Regions from separate parts of the Homo sapiens genome. Here region 1 is linked to region 2. The links are contacts of gene promoters, found by promoter capture Hi-C in blood cells and fetal thymus (Javierre and others, 2016). All regions are on one chromosome and are shown on one strand. Each heading gives the region's core, a stretch centred on a gene start or on the middle of the fragment in contact. The rest is flanking DNA. Distances are from core to core; before and after follow the strand shown.

What was found. Contacts are between HindIII fragments. The CHiCAGO score rates a contact against its expected background, and 5 or more counts as called.
Region 1: a contact is called between a fragment that was not itself captured here and the fragment with the promoter of OSGEP in region 2, in 1 of 17 cell types (M0 macrophages). The highest score is 7.3, in M0 macrophages.

Annotation. Positions count from the first base shown.
Region 1 is chr14:24,422,216-24,426,961 of GRCh38, forward strand. It overlaps CBLN3 (cerebellin 3 precursor), which reads right to left. Exons shown (of 3, transcript NM_001039771.3): 3 at 4,330-4,746. It also overlaps a transcript of KHNYN not described here. Among named protein-coding and RNA genes, the nearest start is that of CBLN3, 5.1 kb to the right of the region's middle. The HindIII fragment of the contact is 1,325 bases long and covers 1,867-3,191 here.
Region 2 is chr14:20,453,120-20,457,462 of GRCh38, forward strand. It overlaps OSGEP (O-sialoglycoprotein endopeptidase), which reads right to left and starts at 1,693. Exons shown (of 11, transcript NM_017807.4): 1 at 1,450-1,693. The coding sequence starts at 1,564. It overlaps APEX1 (apurinic/apyrimidinic endodeoxyribonuclease 1), which reads left to right and starts at 2,107. Exons shown (of 5, transcript NM_001641.4): 1 at 2,107-2,275; 2 at 2,459-2,584; 3 at 2,795-2,982; 4 at 3,549-3,741; 5 at 3,872-4,343. The coding sequence starts at 2,527. RefSeq lists silencers at 1-343, 3,971-4,265, promoters at 1,606-2,050, 1,680-2,217, 1,882-2,216, enhancers at 1,641-1,730, 2,151-2,370 and cis regulatory regions at 1,677-2,007, 1,938-2,093, 1,964-2,005, 2,002-2,007, 2,018-2,050 and 2 more. The HindIII fragment of the contact is 3,687 bases long and covers 1-2,212 here.

The DNA of each region.
Region 1 (4,746 bases), core at 1,279-3,778, 4.0 Mb after region 2:
TTTTTCCAAAGAGTGCCATTTCCCCTCAGCTAATAAGTGGTGATATTTCTTAGGTCTGTACATTCTTGCAGATGGTGAAAAATGAAGTAGTGGAGATTCTGGGAGCTGAATTGTGAGGGATCTCGAAAACCATGTTAAGAAATATGGATTTCATTCTGAGGCCCACCTGGAGCCCCCAGAGGGCCTTAGGCAGTGAAGTTTATTTACACAGATCACTAAGGCTACCGCAGTCTGGAGAATTGAAGGGAAACCACAGGACCAGTTAGGAAACCACAGGACCAGTTAGGAGGCTTTCATAGAAATCTAGCTAAAAGATTGTTAGTTTGAGCCAGGGCAGACGGAAAGAAACGAATGGAACTGATGGATGTGAATGACTAGATATGAGGGTTATGGGAGAGGGAAGAATTAAGGATAATGGCCATTTTTGGTTTGGGCAACAGGGAAGTTCCGTTTACAGATATAGAGAACAAGGGCGAGAGAACAGATTTAGGGAGGAAAGACTATAATTTCAGGTTTTAGCGTGTAGACTTGAAAGTGGAATATTCAATGTATGAGTCTGAGTTTCAGAAAGGGCGATCCTGGATAGAGATAACATTGTCAGCATATGGATGGTCATTTGTGCCTTTGAGAGTGTCTTAGGACCAAAGAATGCTAGGGCAGAACCTTGATGAAAATCAGCACTTAAGAGATGCAGGGCACAGGCAGAGAGGTGGAGGAAAACCAGGGAGCGTACAGTCAGGGAAGTCGGGGCAGAGTGCTTCTAGAAGGAGGGTATAGTCAGCAGGGTCAAATGTTAGAGACAGACTGAGTGACAGGAGGACTAGGAAGTGTTCACCAGCTTCAGTAACACGGAAGTTATGAGCCATGGCTGAGGGCAGTTCAGGTGGAGCAGTGGAGGCCATAGTTCACCGGTGATTACGAGGTGTGCAAATCGAGAGTGTAGACATTTGTACTACAATATTTTGCTTTAAGGAGGAGATGAGCTGACGCCAACTACCTGCAGGAATAGATAGAGCTGAGGATAACTATACCTATATCTACAACTACTTCCATGCCTATCTTCTCTTAGATTTAAGAGACTTGAGCTCCTAAACTTTAAGAGCTGCTGAAGGGAAGGAGTGAGTAGAAAGGAGAGTGACAGATGACAGGATGTCTGGAGGAAACTGGATCCAAGACTGGTGGATGAGGATAGCAGCCTTGACAGGAGGAGGAACTCGTCTCCCACCGAGACAGGCAGGAGGAAGCAGAGATGGGGAGGAAGGTGAGTTTGTAAGTGTGGTGGTGGGCAGGGTCCTGCTTGGAGTTTCTGTGTTCTCAGTGAGGTGGAAGGTGAGGCTGTCTGCCGCTGACCATGGGCCATGGGAGCAGAACTGGTGGGGCAAAAGGCTTAAGGAGGGAACAGAAGCTGGCAGTGGATTCTGGGGAAGATGAGGGGCAGCTGGCAAAGGAAACCAGTGAAGAGTTAGAGGATTGAGGATTATAGGATTGAGGACCAGATGTGGCTGGAGGCCATGGATTTAGATCCACATTGAATCCTTCATCAGTGGGACTTCTCTGTAGGAATCAGCTGCCAGGGCATGGGCATAGGGAAGGTGAATAGTTGGAGTCTGTTGTTAGGATCCTTAAAGTCTGAGGAGCTTTTGGTACCTGGAGAGGACCACACACCATCACCTGTGCTTTATTTATTGTTTAATCTATTCACAAACCTACTGAAGGAAAAATTGTCTAAATATTTGAACACGATTTCTATAACCAGCAAATCAAAATCTATACATTTAACAAGTTAAATGATTTAAACGTTGATTAAAAACAATCAAATCCTCCTAAATATTTCAACTGAATCACTAATATGTCAGTTTCTCTAAAAGCTTCATTTTGGTAAGGGACACATACCATTATAAGGATTATAAAGTTTATAACACCTATGCTTAAATCCACTATAAAAATGGGTGGTAGACCTGAGAGACATTATCTCAGCTCAGGGCAATTTTTGAATTTAGATATCTAAAATAAAAATATATCTCAATGTAGATCAAGTTTTGGATTATTAATCAATGAATTTTTGGTTGGGACCTGGGAATTGGTTCACCTTCTAAAATGATTAAAATCTGAGCTGGTATTTATCTTGTATATATCATGGGAAATTTTCAAGCCCATACGTTTTCCATGCAGTGGTATTGTAGCTGCATGCCTTTTCTCTACATGATGCCATCTTTGAGTTTAGTGACTCTGATATGCAGATGTCCTGAAGATGTCCATGCCTTAATCCCTGGAACCTGTGAATATGTTATGTTACATGGCAAAACGAACTTCAAATATGCAATTCAGGTTGTGGACCTTAAAATAGGGAGATTATCCTGGCTTATCTGGGTGGGCCTAATCACACGAGTCCCTAAACTCAGAGAACTTTCTACACTGAAGTCAGAGAGATGTGGTAGAAAGGTAGGCCTGAGAGATTTAAAGTGTGAGAAGGACTTGGCTTGCAGTTGTTGGCTTGAGAATGGAGGGGGCTAGGACCTAAGTCCTACAACCGTAAGGAACTGAACTTTAAATGAGTTTAGAAGTGGATTCTTCCCCTCCAGTAAGGAAGGCTGCCCTGCTTATACTTTGCTTTTGATCTTGTGAAACCCTGAGCAGAGAAGCCAGTCACGTTTTGTTGGACTTCTGACCCACAGAAACTGTGAGGTAATAAACAGTTGTTTTAAGCCACCAAGTTGGTAGTACTTTGTGGCCAGATGTGGTAGCTCACACCTGTAATCAGATCACGTGAGGCCAGGAGTTTGATACCAGCCTGGACAACATGGCGAAACCCCATCTTTACTAAAAATACAAAAAATTAGCTGGGTGTGGTGGCTCGCACCTGTAATCCCAGCTACTCGGGAGGCTGAGGCATGAGCATTGCTTGAACCCAGGAGGTGGAGGTTGCAGTGAGCTGAAATTGCACCACTGCACTCCGGCCTGGTCGACAGAGCATGACTCTGCCTCAAAAAACAACAATAAAAAACAACTTCTAGTTGTCTTCCCCAATAGCTAATTTCCCCTTCTTCCTTGTTATAAAACTCCCAACTTCTGGCTGGACATGGCTGCCTGGAATAAACACTGTAGCTCCTAGCCAAGCTCCCTGGCTTGGTGAGCCCGGGTGACTAAATTCTACTGAGACACAATCAGAAATATTGGTGCATATTTCAGAAAGCTTCTTTCAAGGAAAGAGATGTGTTGTTTCTTCCTTCCTCCTTCCTGTTAGGCTGATGTAATGTCTGGAGCTCAGGGAGCCGTCTTGGGTCATGAGGTGGCAAGCTAAGGATGGTAGAACAAGACAGAAGACTGGGCTTTCAAATGATCATAAGGCTGCCATCCATCCCTGGACTCTTATTTACAGATTTTTCTATGTGAGACAAAAATGATTTCCTATTTTGTTTAAGCTATTCTTATTTTGGGTTTTACTGTTACAGCCAAACCTACTCTTAATCATTTTGCCTAATTAATATCTCATTATAATTAGTGGGGTAATACAGAGGATCCATTTTCTAGGAGATGAACGATCAAGCCTGAGCAGTGAACAGTTGTCTTTTGGACATCTGACTAATCCATTGTCTTATAACACGCCATTGGACTGTTTTTCTTCTTAGTTGCAAAATATACTCAAATAGTTCCACCAGTATCTTTCATTCTTGGCACAGTGCCAGATCTTCTTGGAATTATTCACAGTTCTCTGTACTCACCCCTCCCTACTTACATAGATAAAGAAAAACAAATGTACCTTGCAAATAGACAAAATGCCTACTATATTTATGTTCTTGTACTTATCACGACTCACTAAAAATAGCCTATATTCACTCTTCTTCACTCAGCATATTAACTACTTTTTGTCACACTTTATAGTGACTTCTTCCTTTTTGAATATCATTGCAGGTACATGGATTTAAAAAATTCACCTTGTTCCAATTAACTGTATTATTTTCCTTTTGATAATCAAATTGTCAAAGCATGTCAAGTGGGAGCTTCTTTAAATTGATTCCTTTGCCTTTTCAGCTTTACTTTATACATTTAAAAAGTATCTTTGCTTTCTGTCATCAACAACATGTTCTGGGCCTGGAGTTACTTAAGGTGTGCAGCTATTCTCCAAGGAACCTGAGGGTTTTTGGTATTTTTTTTTAATGGTGACTAATATCTGAAGCAAAGATCCAGTTTCTAAGAATGGATATCAGATTGTTCCTGATGTTGTTTTTAGGATTAGTGACAGTTCAAAAAGTTATTTCTTTTCAAAACCACAAATTCACCTTGGTATTTCCTATTTAACTCAAACATTATTCAACTTTTAAAATGTAATTTTAGTATACAGTTTGATATTTATTTTCCTCTGCAACATACCTACTTGTACCTGTAACACCCGATCCAAACTCCAGAGGCATCTTCTCCTTAGTAATTCTATAGTGTCTCACTGACCACCATTCTCTAGTTGTTTTATTGATAGATTCATCCAGGCTGGGCCAATGGGACAGCGGGATAAGAAAGAGAGAGGGAGGGTTTAGCATACTGGCAGGAGAGGGTCTGAAGGAATGAATCATGGAATCCCAGGTAATAGGAAGCCTAAGGAGGAGAATAAGACAGCACAGATCAGGAGAAAGAGAGATAGTGGGGATATGCTGGAACAGGTACAGTGAAGATAACTCAGTGAGAGAGCTGGGAGGAAGGAGGCAGCAGTCAGAGTGTGGAGGGACTAAAGTTCAAACTTCAAAGGTGGAG
Region 2 (4,343 bases), core at 443-2,942:
TGAATATCTCAAAGCATTGAGTATTTTATTTATCTTTGTATTCCCAGTGCCCAAGTGCCCAGAGGAGTGAATGCTAAACATACATATATATTTCTAGTGAGTATCTGTCACAACATCACCTGTTCAGGGAGGCTTTTCAGATACATGCAAGTCAGCTGCCCTCTCCTATGTATGCAAGTGTTTGAGGGGAGAGTAGCAAGATATAATAGCTTATTTAAAATATCAATTAAAAGTTGTAATGTGTTTTGTACTTTTTTTTTTTTTGAGACAGAGTTTCACTCTTGATGCCCAGGCTGGAGTGCAATGGCACCATCTCGGCTCACTGCAACCTCTGTCTCCCGGGTTCACGCAATTCTCCTGCCTCAGCCTCCCAAGTAGCTGGGTTTACAGGCATGCGCCACCACGCCCAGTTAATTTTTTGTATTTTTTAGTGGAAACATGGTTTCTCCATGTTGGTCAGGCTGGTCTCGAACCCCGACCTCAGGTGATCTGCCTGCCTTGGCCTCCCAAAGTGCTGGGATTACAGGCGTGAGCCACCACGCCCAGCCGTGTTTGGTACTTTCATCTAATCTTCAAGACCTAATGATACAGGTATTATTCCCATTTTAAAAACAAAGACCAGGCCCGAGCGGTGGCTCATGCCTGTAATTTCCACACTTTGGGAGGCTGGGGTGGGCGGATCATCTGAGGTCAGGAGTTCGAGACCAGCTTGGCCTGGTGGAAACCCCGACTCTACTAAAAATACAAAATTTAGCTGGATGTGGTGGCGCACACCTATAGTCCTAGCTACTTGGGAGGCTGGGGTAGAAGAATCGCTTGAACCTGGAAGGCAGAGATTGCAGTGAGCCGAGATCGTGCCACTGCATTCCAGCCTGGGCGACAGAGCAAGACTCTGTCTCAAAAAAATAAAATAAAATAAAAAATAAAGACCAAATGTCCAAAACAAAAATATTTAATATGAATATAGCAAAGCCAGCCAGTTCTGTCTGACATGTAAGCCGGGAGTCTTTCCACTCTCATCTCTCTACTCATCCTAGAATATTTCAAAAAATAATTTTTTTTTAAAAAGGGAGTGTATATTCAGGGCAACTGGAATCTATACTCCTGCTAAGCGTTTTTTAAACAGAATATTTCGAGTCCATCTCTATTATACTGTTTATCATGCTGTAGTATAAACATCTATTTATATGTCTGACTCCACAGCAGTATAACATCTATTTCTGAATACTTAGCACATAAAATGCGCTCAGTAAAAGGTAAATGAACTCATCAGATCCACGTCCAAGTGCCTGTAACTCTTCTAGTCATCAGCCTTGTGACGTTAATAATGTCACATAATTTCAATGAGACTCGGATCGAAAGCTGCACCTCACTAGTATTTAGGAAGATGGAAGGCTGATTCTGTGCGGGGAAGTGCGCGGAAAACTCTTAAGTCCCCTACTCACCAACCTGTGCCAGGAGGCGTGACGTAAGTCCGCCGCGGGTTCGCCAGCACCTTGCCATCCCGCACCACGCCCACGCCAATCTTATTGGCGCTGCCTTCAAAACCCAGCACCGCCGGCATGGCGGAGGCTGGGAGAAAACGCCGACAGGACTCCTGGCAATGTCAGGAGCTGTGGAGGTCCTCACTAGTCCGCGCTGGGCCGCAGCTTTCCGGAGCGCAGAGGAAGCTGGCCAGCCTGCAGATAGCACTGGGAAAGACACCGCGGAACTCCCGCGAGCGGAGACCCGCCAAGGCCCCTCCAGGGACCTGTCTTCCTAACTGCCAGGGACGCCGAGCCAACTCTGTGCCTTACATTCGTATCCGTTTTCCTATCTCTTTCCCGTGGTCCAGCCCAGCCTTCTCCACTGTTTTTTTCCCTCTTGCACATAGTTAGAATCTTAAGTCAGTGTCACACAATGTGCTGTGCATCTGGCACAACGATAAACAGCCCGAGGGAGGGTTGGGGACCTAAGTGTCCTAGAGAATTAGAGGAGGGAGGCGAGGCTAAGCGTCTCCGTCACGTGGTGTCAGACAGACCAATCACGCGCATTCTTCGGCCACGACAAGCGCGCCTCTGATCACGTGACCAGGTCCGCTACCCACGTGGGGGCTCAGCGTGCACCCTTCTTTGTGCTCGGGTTAGGAGGAGCTAGGCTGCCATCGGGCCGGTGCAGATACGGGGTTGCTCTTTTGCTCATAAGAGGGGCTTCGCTGGCAGTCTGAACGGCAAGCTTGAGTCAGGACCCTTAATTAAGATCCTCAATTGGCTGGAGGGCAGATCTCGCGAGTAGGGTACAAGGCACTATGAAATGATCTAGTTTCGTGGGTGAGGGGCTGAAGGGCCTATGATGCACGGAGGCGGGGAAAGGATTTAGAGATAACGTGGTTTGAAAGGCGGGACCTGGTGCGGGGACGCTCTTGGGAGGAGTCTTCTCCCCAGCCTTAGCTGGTTTCATGATTTCTTTGCGTCTGTAGGCAACGCGGTAAAAATATTGCTTCGGTGGGTGACGCGGTACAGCTGCCCAAGGGCGTTCGTAACGGGAATGCCGAAGCGTGGGAAAAAGGGAGCGGTGGCGGAAGACGGGGATGAGCTCAGGACAGGTAAGGGAATGAAATCAGCCCTTCTTCCTAGAAGCTGCGGCGGGGGTGTTTGTCATTCCCTTGATGTACGGTAAGTACGGGCCGACTCATTTTTGCAGGGGTTTGTGAAGAAGTCGCAGGAACCGTAGGCTTTCGTTGGGTCTATAGTTAACGCCGGATCGCAGTTGGAAACCACCAGCTTTTTGTCAGTATATATTACTCATTTTATAGAGCCAGAGGCCAAGAAGAGTAAGACGGCCGCAAAGAAAAATGACAAAGAGGCAGCAGGAGAGGGCCCAGCCCTGTATGAGGACCCCCCAGATCAGAAAACCTCACCCAGTGGCAAACCTGCCACACTCAAGATCTGCTCTTGGAATGTGGATGGGCTTCGAGCCTGGATTAAGAAGAAAGGATTAGATGTGAGTGGAATTTGAGGGAAAGAGACATTTTTTAGTATTGAATGGTCTTAGGGTTTAGTCACCCCTTTTCTCCGTTTAGCCTTCAGGCTGTTTTATTTTTCTCCTGCCCGTAGTTTTCTGTGGGGCTTCCCCAGTCTTGCCAGTTGTATTTCCTAAATGTCTGTTCCTTCACTTCCATTGCCATTTTCTTTTTTAGTGTTCTCTCCTCTTCCCAGAATGTTGCAAAAACCTCTTCACTATACTTCCTCCATTTTATCTTCCTGCATTGCATTCCATATGAAGCATGTCCTCCATTCCATTAACCATAGCTTAAAAATCTTAGCTTGCTATCCACTGCCTATAGAAAAAACACATCTCCTTGGCATAGCATGTAAGACTTTCTTACCTCTCTATATTTGTTTTCATTTATCTAGCTTAGAATTGTTTGAATATTGTGCTGCTTGACTCGAACTCCTTAGGCCAAGAGACTGTTTAACCCGTGCGTATCTATGACTTAGCATATAGATTATTCAATAAATGTTCTGCTGAATTGATAATACGTTTTCCACCTTTCTTTTCACTTACAGTGGGTAAAGGAAGAAGCCCCAGATATACTGTGCCTTCAAGAGACCAAATGTTCAGAGAACAAACTACCAGCTGAACTTCAGGAGCTGCCTGGACTCTCTCATCAATACTGGTCAGCTCCTTCGGACAAGGAAGGGTACAGTGGCGTGGGCCTGCTTTCCCGCCAGTGCCCACTCAAAGTTTCTTACGGCATAGGTGAGACCCTATTGATGCCTAATGCCTGAACTCTTCAAAACCAATTGCTAATTCTCTATCTCTGCCCCACCTCTTGATTGCTTTCCCTTTTCTTATAGTTTTTTATGCTAATTCTGTTTCATTTCTATAGGCGATGAGGAGCATGATCAGGAAGGCCGGGTGATTGTGGCTGAATTTGACTCGTTTGTGCTGGTAACAGCATATGTACCTAATGCAGGCCGAGGTCTGGTACGACTGGAGTACCGGCAGCGCTGGGATGAAGCCTTTCGCAAGTTCCTGAAGGGCCTGGCTTCCCGAAAGCCCCTTGTGCTGTGTGGAGACCTCAATGTGGCACATGAAGAAATTGACCTTCGCAACCCCAAGGGGAACAAAAAGAATGCTGGCTTCACGCCACAAGAGCGCCAAGGCTTCGGGGAATTACTGCAGGCTGTGCCACTGGCTGACAGCTTTAGGCACCTCTACCCCAACACACCCTATGCCTACACCTTTTGGACTTATATGATGAATGCTCGATCCAAGAATGTTGGTTGGCGCCTTGATTACTTTTTGTTGTCCCACTCTCTGTTACCTGCATTGTGTGACAGCAAGATCCGTTCCAAGGC